3 separate regions of the Homo sapiens genome follow, and all the other regions are linked to region 1. Evidence: promoter capture Hi-C in human tissues and cell types (Jung and others, 2019). All regions are on one chromosome and are shown on one strand. The core of a region is centred on a gene start or on the middle of the fragment in contact, and the rest is flanking DNA. Distances in the headings are between cores, read along the strand shown.

The links. The method cuts DNA at HindIII sites, captures the fragments that hold promoters and counts their contacts. A contact is called where the count stands out against the background at its distance.
Region 2: the fragment with the promoter of PLXNB1 here is called in contact with the fragment with the promoter of FBXW12 in region 1 in 1 of the 25 tissues and cell types used here (IMR-90 fibroblasts).
Region 3: a fragment that was not itself captured here is called in contact with the fragment with the promoter of FBXW12 in region 1 in 10 of the 25 tissues and cell types used here (IMR-90 fibroblasts, bladder, heart left ventricle and 7 more).

The regions. Positions count from the first base shown.
Region 1 is chr3:48,370,496-48,373,468 of GRCh38, forward strand. It overlaps FBXW12 (F-box and WD repeat domain containing 12), which reads left to right and starts at 1,724. Exons shown (of 11, transcript NM_207102.2): 1 at 1,724-1,825; 2 at 2,189-2,362; 3 at 2,813-2,850. The coding sequence starts at 2,273. The HindIII fragment of the contact is 16,322 bases long and covers 1-2,973 here.
Region 2 is chr3:48,428,490-48,431,380 of GRCh38, forward strand. PLXNB1 (plexin B1) reads right to left here and starts at 1,597. Exons shown (of 38, transcript NM_001130082.3): 1 at 1,519-1,597. RefSeq lists silencers at 551-630, 711-1,310 and an enhancer at 1,551-2,544. The HindIII fragment of the contact is 17,995 bases long and covers 1-2,891 here.
Region 3 is chr3:48,317,540-48,320,325 of GRCh38, forward strand. It overlaps SPINK8 (serine peptidase inhibitor Kazal type 8 (putative)), which reads right to left. Exons shown (of 8, transcript NM_001080525.3): 6 at 1,958-2,079. Among named protein-coding and RNA genes, the nearest start is that of MIR2115, 2.5 kb to the left of the region's middle. The HindIII fragment of the contact is 4,808 bases long and covers 1-2,786 here.

The DNA of each region.
Region 1 (2,973 bases), core at 474-2,973:
CATGCTGTGTCGTCCCTCCCTCTCTGTCCTACTCTCAGGCTGCCCAACTCCTTATGGATCCCTCTTCTCAGGTTTCCCCAGCTGCCTGCTTTAATCTACTTTCTCCTAGACAATGTCCGGACCATTCTCTCACCTGCATCTTATCTTTTGCTTAGACTATTACGCAGTTACCATTTCACATCTCTCAAATTTTACATCTCTTAACTCTTGTGACATTTAGATTTGTCTTCATCTATTGTTGCAATGTGTCTTTCTCTGCCGCTTTTCTGGTAGCACCCCGCCACCACCACCCCCCAACACACCTTCCTGTTCCTCTATTTTTTTTGTTGTTGTTGTTGAGATGGAGTCTCGCACTGTCGCCCAGGCTGGAGTGCAGTAGCGCAATCTCAGCTCACTGCAACCTCCACCTCCCAGCTTCAAGCAATTCTCCTGCCTCAGCCTCCCAAGTAGCTGGGATTACAGGCACCCGCCACCACGCCCAGCTAATTTGTTGTATTTTTAGTAGAGACAGGGTTTCACTATGTTGGCCAAGCTGGTCTCAAACTCCTGACCTGGTGATCCACCCGCCTCGGCCTCCCCAAGTGCTGGGATTACGGGCATGAGCCACTGTGCCTGGCCTCTGTTCCTCTATTTCAAATTCATTCATTCACTCATTCGGCAATTTGCTTCAGTTTCCTTATGTTTGCCTCTTTCTCATCTGTCCTCTTTTCCATTTTATTCCTACTCTGTCTCAGTCCACTTACAGTTATATTTCCTATCTGTGTATTTTATAATATTTGTGCTTTAATACTTTTAAAATATCCTTTATTTTACTGTTTCTTCTCTTCCCTTGTCATATTTTAAAGTGTTTTATTTCTCAGCCTTCTATATCTTTGCATTAATTCTGTTCCTCTACAATAGAGTCCGTTCCAAGCTTTCTGTCTTCCTGTGTCCTTCCACGGCTCTGGCTCTCTCTGCATTATTTCCTATTTATGGAATACAAATCTTTTACCCTTGTATTTTTCTCACTCCTCTCCACACACCCCTTGACTCGCCTTTCCCCACGCCCCTCTAGGTGCTTCTTGGTCTTTGCTTTTCCTTTTTATTTCCTCACCATGTCAATTTGTATTTTTCCTCTCTCTTACTACTGTATCATAAATGGGACTCCCGACAACCACTCCCGTGTGTCTGCCTGGAGGCAGCAGTTTTAAGAAGGGTTGGCCACTGAGCCTCACAGAGGGACCCCTGTCTTATGCTGCAGCAAAGTACCATAGACTGGGTGGCTTACAAACAAATTTATTTCTCACAATTTTGGAGGAGAGAAGTCCAAGAGTCACCTGTCAGCACGGTCAGGTTCTGGTGTGGGCCTTCTTCCAGGTTGCAGCTGACACCTTCTCATGTCCTCGCATGATATGAACAGGGCTAGAGAGCGTTCTGGGGTCTCTTTTATAAGGTCACTGGTCCCATCATAAGGACTCTGCCTGTGACCCACTTACCTCCCAAAGGCCCCCCACCTCCAATCACACCAAGGGTTAGAATTTCAACGTAGGAATTTTGAGAGGACACAAACACCCAGGCTATGACACGGTCTTTAGAAAATCCCAGAATGAGTTGTCAGGTTCTTGGGAGATCTGTAACTGTGGGAAAGCGTCACATCCCAGGGAAAGCCACCAGCTGGGAGAGCCATCCCAGACAAGGCCTGCTCCCTTTGGGCGGACCTCTGTGGAGAAGCCAGCTTGGCACGTTCTTTCTCCTCCACTGCAAAGTTAAATGCGAGAAGGTAGAAACCCAGAGGCCATGCTGGCGCTGAGAGATGAGCCCCACTCACCAGATTCAAGATCCCAAGGTAGGCACAGACACAGGGCAAGCAGACTCCAATTCCAGGAGTTTGGAACTTAAATAGAGTCATAGAGACACTCAGATCTGATCAAAGTGAGTGCACTCGGTGACATTTCCTAAAGGGTTCTGACAACTTCATCTGCAACTGGGGCTGCCCCAGGTTCTGCACCTCCAGCTCACAGCGCACAGGTGTTGCTGAGCTCCTCTAAACAATGAACAGCACTAACAAGTGGGTTTAGGTAGGGATGCCTGCCAGCTGTGTGGATCAGGCCCCAGGGGAGAGGCCGGGGTGGAGGTCAGCCCGGGAGTCTGCACACCTGCAGCTTGTTTCTACCGCACACAGATGGGCATGGGTGAAAATCTTTACAAGTGCTGCAGACTTTGGCAAAGCCTATAAATTCAGAGCAGCCCGGAGAGGAGAAAGGAAAGTGGATGTGGGTTCAGGCCGCATGAAATGGAGATCCGATTGCCTGACTTAGCTTTGAAGCGAATCTTCTCTTTCCTGGACCTGTTCGGCTTGCTGCAGGTTTCCCAGGTGAACAAGGTAAAGGCCTTCCACCTCCCACTGCCCCCCAAGCCCGCTGCTTCTCTCGACCAGTTTGAGCACCACTTTGCAGAATAGCAGAGGGTTACACTGAGGCTTTGGGGGTTAGCATTCTTCATACTGAGGGCCTCATATTCTGTTAAACGAAAAGGACAAGCTGATATCCAGGAGTTGTGCTGACTAAACAGTCCTTGAGGCTCCCATTTCAAGCCCTAGGAAATCAACACTTCTTCCTGTGAATTCATGGGAATACCCAGTGCCTGTATTAGCAGTGATAGGTCTCTGTTGTTACCATTTCCTTATCTCCCCACACTGAGAGTGCTTTGAGAGCTGGAATCCCATCTGATTAACCTGTGCGGGCCCAGCTCCCAGAACAAATAATAGCAGAGGATTACCCTTGCTCTCTGATGTAACTGATTGCCTGCTTGTCTCTTCCTTTCTCTCCCATAGCATTGGAATAGGATTGCAGACAGTGATTACCTGTGGAGGTAAGGGAAGGGAAAGGGCAAGGAGGGAAGGGGAGAGGAGATCATCTGACTGCGCACCCATGCTGTGTCCCAAGGCCTGTGTGGCTGTGTTGTGAGATATACACAGGAAAGTTAGTGTGAGTA
Region 2 (2,891 bases), core at 347-2,846, 58 kb after region 1:
ACCCCCGTGGAGCTGTCCTCGACAACAAAAGGGGCTCACAAACCCCGCCATTCCGCACCTGCAGAGGGGCCATAGGACAGCCCACATTTGCCTTGCCTGCCAGTTAGTGGGAAACCGGCCTTCCCGTTTCACCCTCCTGCTCAGCTCCCAGGGTTCACTACAGAGGTGAGTTATTCATTGACAGTGCAGTGGTGCCCGCTGCCCGCCCTGTTTTCTGTGTGTTGAGGAGGGGTGGGGAGATCCACCATTTACCAGGCACCTGCGATGACCCAAGGCGCTCATCGATCACCCACTTAATATGTCTGTGTGTGGAGAGGAGGGTCCCCCCCACCCGCCCGGGGGTCAGGAGGCTCGAGGTCCGCCTTTGTCAGTCCCACCGGGAGCAGCCAGAAAGGGCTGTTACTACTGAGGGGAAGCCCCGACCTCCCCACTCGGCTCGTCCTTGACCCTCCCCAACCCCCAGACCCCGAGGCGAGGACCCCATCACTGGCCCTGGGAGGGCGGGGAAGGGGCCGGCCGGTCCCCGGCGGCGACGGCGAGGAGGGGGCGCGGAGGAGCAGCTCCACCTCCTCAGTCTCCCAATCGCGTTCCAGGCGGAGTCGCCAGAGTTTCCCTTCGCGCGGAGAAGTGTGGTCCCAACTCTCAAAACCAAAGCCGCCCACCACTCACCCAGGCCGCCCCTGCCCGGCGGGATCGGGGCCCCGGCCCGTTCCACCTCGGGAGCCCCGTTCCTCGCCGCCCTGGCCCCGAGCCCCGCACTCACCACCCGGCCGGGCCCCGCGGGATGTGCGCGCCGAGGCGGGCGTCGGCCGCTCCGGGCTCGGGCTCCGCGCGCAGCGGCCTCTCCCCGGGTCTGGCGGAGCCGCAGCTGTTACCCGGAGACCGAGGGGCGGAAAACTGCGCCCGCTGCCCGCCCCTCCCGCGCGGCGCTGCCACCGCCGGGAACAAAGGAGACAAAGCCGCGTCGGCCGGGCTCGTCTCCGCTCCTTCCCCCTCGCCTGCCGGGCTGCCCTCCCCCCGCCCGCCGCCCGGGCCAGGCCGGAAGCAGCCCGGAGAGCCGGGCGCGCGGCCCCGAACCGCCCGGGACCCCGCATTCCAGCCCCGCGGGCTCCGCATCGGCCGAGGGCTGGGGACCCGACCCCTCCCGCACGGGGGAGGGCGGGGGCGGGCTGCACCGCGGCGGTCGCCATGGCAACGCGGGTCGCCCGGAGGGGTGAGGAGTGAACCCCGGGAGCCAGAGCCGCCCCGCCCCGTCGGCCTCACCTGCTCGCCTCCTTGGAACCGGAACTGGGAACTTTCCTGGTTGCCAGGAGCCGAGGCGGGGGGTCGCGCTCCGCACCCGCAGGTGCTGGTGGAACAGCGTCCCGGCCTCTTCCCGCCCGTCCAGAGCCGGGTAGCACCCGAGTCCCTCACCAGCCCGACCCGTTCTTCTGCCAGCGCCCGGCCTCGCCCCGCGCCCGGAGCTCCCTTTCCCTTCCTTACCCGGCTCCGGTGGTCATCCTCCCCAACTTTCTTTACCTGAACTCCAAGGCGCCTTGTTTCTCCCCTGCGCACCTGGCCCTGCCCACCGCCCCTGCTCACCGCCCCTGCTCCCACTACTCCCCAACAGCCAATCCCTCCTTCCGGCCCCCACCTCTGGCTGTTTGAGAAGAGCATGGGCTTTGGACCTGGGCTTGCGCCATCAACTAAACCATGTAACCTGACACCAACCCCCCCCAGCCTATTTGCTCACCAGTAAGTGGGGGTGATCCCACCTCTAGCGGGGCTGTGAAGGCAGGGAACCTGGGCTGCAGAGGCGCACAAGCAAGGGCTCACTTCCTTCCTTTCTTCCCAGCCCAGGACCCAGACCTGGACCCACCCCAAGCTGAGAAGCGTTGGGCAAGTCTGGGCTCCCTCACTGGCAAACACCTGGGCCTTCTGCGGGAGGAAACGCTGGCAGAAAGGTTCTCTCCTGGGGACCATTTGTACCCTGTGCAGGGCCCTTCACACCCTGGCATGCCCACGGCTAACTCAGGACCAGAACCTGGCCCATCCTATTAGGACTTTTGGAGGACTTTGGCTCAAAGCCATTGGCACAGCTTCCTGGGAGGCAAAAACGTCACAGGCATCATCTGAAAGCCTCCAAGGCCTCCACAGGCTAGGGGAGCCTCAATCAGGAGGTTCAGGTCATCCACACTGGCTACTGCCCTAGAGCTAGAGACACCCTCTTCCCACCTCCCACCAGCTATCAAGGGTCTCCTGTCAGGTCACCCCTTTTCCTCCACTCCCACTTCCAGCACCTGAGTCCAGGTGCTTAGCACCTTGTCTGCACCAGCATAGCAATCCCTCCCTGGATCCCTCACCCTTAGCCTCTGACCTCAGACTGCCAACCTGGCACCCCGGGCCTGTGACATCATTCTGCACAACTCCCCCACACCCATCACCACCCCAGCCAGGACAGTCTGCCCCAGTCCCTCACCCACTTTGGCTTTCCTGCCTATGTAGCTTGTAGCAGCCCCCTCCACATGCACAGAATCCCTCCCTCCCCAAATCCATTCATCCAAGCACACACTTCAGGACCTATCTCACCCCAGAGGAAACTGGGACTTCCAAACCCCACAACCCCTTTCATCTGTACACAGATACGCTACCTCCTGCCCTACAAGGAATGTGAACACTCTAAGCACAGGGGTCTTTCCATCCCATGCCATTCTGGGGAGCCATTACTCGCCAAGGATAGATTGACTGAGGGACCAGGTGCTGAGAACCTGGGGTGGGGGGCATTTGGGCCATGCTCACTGCCCAAGACTGAACACAGGCTCCAAGAAGAAAGTATGCCTTATGGGAAACACTCCTGACTCCACAGGCTCTGAGAGCTCTGCACAGGCACCAGTGAACGAGTCCCCACCTGC
Region 3 (2,786 bases), core at 255-2,754, 53 kb before region 1:
GAGTCTCACTTTGTCACCCAGGCTGGAGTGCAGTGGCGCGATCTTGGCTCACTGCAAGCTCCACCTCTCAGGTTCATGCCATTCTCCTGCCTGAGCCTCCTGAGTAGCTGGGACTACAGGCACCCGCCACCACGTCTGGCTAATTTTTTGTATTTTTAGTAGAGATGGGGTTTCACCATGTTAGCCAGGATGGTCTCTATCTCCTGACCTCCTGATCTGCCCGTCTCAAAAGAACTTTGCTCTGTTGCCCAGGCTAGAGTGCAGTGGCACGATCATGGCTCACTGCAGCCTTGAACTCCTGGGCTCAAGCAATCATCCTGACTTCCAAGTAGCTAGGACTACAGGCAGGTGCCACCATGCCTGGCTAATTTTTTAATTTTTTTTTGTAGAGTCAGGGTCTCGCTATGTTGCTCATGTCTCAAATCCCTAGGCTCAAGCAATCCTTCTGCCTCAGCTTCCCAAAGTGTTGGGATTACAGGCTTGAGCCACCCCTCCAGGCAAAAATATTTTTTAAAATTTTTGTAATTAAGTTGGTATTAATCCAAATTAGATTGGTATAAATTAGAATTTAACTTGTAATATCCAGTGCAACTGCTAAGAGAATAATTTCTTTTTTTTTGAGACGGAGTCTTGCTTTATCTCCCAGGCTGGAGTGCAGTGATGCAATCTCAGCTCACTGCAACCTCCGCCTCCTGGGTTCGAGGGATTCTTCTGCCTCATCCTCCTGAGTAGCTGGGATTACAGGCATGCACCACCACACCCGGCTAATTTTTGTATTTTTAGTAGAGACGGGATTTCATCATATTGGCCAGGCTGGTCTCGAACTCCTGACCTCAGGTGATCCGCCCACCTCGGCCTCCCAAAGTGCTGGGATTACAGGCGTGAGCCACTGCGCCCAGCTAGAATAATTTCTAAGATACACTGAAAGGGAGCTCTTTAGAGGCCATCTCTCAGATGTCTCCTGGTTCCAGCATCGTTTGACTCTGTCATGCTGCGCATTCCCCAGATGATGCTTTCTGATTGTCAGGTGTCAGCGTCTGTGCCAGTGATTGAGGCTGACACCAAAGTTGTTTACCTTACAACTCTCGTATGGGTTCTAGTGTAAGCTTTAGTGTTTATTCAGCCAAGAATACAAGAAAGTCCGATCCTGCCCAGCCAAATATCTCTCATCCTGATCAAGAAGATTCTTATTCCTTCTCTGGAGGAGAAGCTAAGAAGAGGAAGGGGAGAGAGACTTAATTCTGATCTACTCTTGTGTTTTTGCTTTTCTCTCTTAAGATAGCACTCAACTTGTAAGCCTTAGTTAGACAAGGGTGTGGCTTTTCTCCTTAAAGGAGAAGGCAGATGTCAGAGAATCCTCCTAACTGTATACGGAGTTTCCTTCATACAAACCCCTGCTCCTCACTATTCCCCTTGGGCTAAACAATTGGGCGTTTCACTTGTGTGTTACTCAAAGCTTCTAACATGTGATGGGTGCAGAGACTAAACCACATACTAAGTTGAAAGCAAAAGAAAGTTGTTTTGGAAAATAATATCCATTTTAGGACCAATAAACTATTAGCTGGGAAGATTCTTCACCCAGCTTCCTCTTCCTCTTCTTTTTGTTCTTTGTTTCTGTTCTTTGGCCTGAGGGGGCATGAGGATGACCTTCATGTAGGGTCACATGATCTACATGCTATGGCTGCTTGTTTCTGAGTGCCTCCACTTGAGGCTTGTCCAGGTCACACACAGTGCCCTCACCTTAGTGGATTTCTGTTTCTGCATTGTCTGAATAGGATCACATGTACCTTTTGAGGTCACAGAAAGGAATGGAAGAAAGGGAGGAACAAATACTGGAGGAATGTCTGGAGAGAAGGTCTCATTGGATGATGTAGGAAGTGGGCTGAGGTCATCACCCTCTTTTGACCACTCTTAACCTCTTGACTTGAAAGAAAGGGAGAACAAAATTAGGACTTACAGAATTTTGGAGCACAGATGGCAGTCACTACTGTAGGTAACCTGGTCACTGCCACAAATAGGTTCACTGGGCTTGATGTAGGATAAAAACCAGCACTTATTTACATTCTTGAGGCATTCAACCTGAAGGTGAGACACACACAACTGCTTCAGACACTTTCATCCAGGTCCTTTGGCCGTTATTATGTATAGCTTGGGAGGTGGATGGAATACGAGCACCAGATCAGGAGTTCAGAGAAAAGGATTCAGAAGCCTCAGTGTTTGACCCCAACAGTTACCACCCACAATATGTATATAATTGCAAAATAATATATAATCTGTGCACTCTCCAGACTCCCATAAATTCTTTATTAAGATAAAAATACCGGCCGGGCGCGGTGGCTCATGCCTGTAATCCCAGCACTTTGGGAGTCCGAGGTGGGTGGATCACGAGGTCAGGAGATCGAGACCACGGTAAACCCCATCTCTACTAAAAATACAAAAAATTAGCCGGGCGTGGTGGTGGGCGCCTGTAGTCCCAGCTGCTGGGGAGGCTGAGGCAGGAGAATGATGTGAACCTGGGAGGCGGAGCTTGCAGTGAGCCGAGATCGCGCCACTGCACTCCAGCCTGGGCGACAGAGCAAGACTCCGTCTCCAAAAAAAAAAAAAGATAAAAATCCCTGCCCTCTGTAACCTAACAATCATATTTTTGTACCAACCCCAAAATGTGATTGGTAGGTTACAGAGAGCAGAAGTAGGGAAATGTCTTTCCAGGTTAAAATTTCTGATGAAGGGCCAGGCATGGCGGCTCACGCCTGCACTCCCAGCACTTTGGGAGGCCGAGGTGGGCA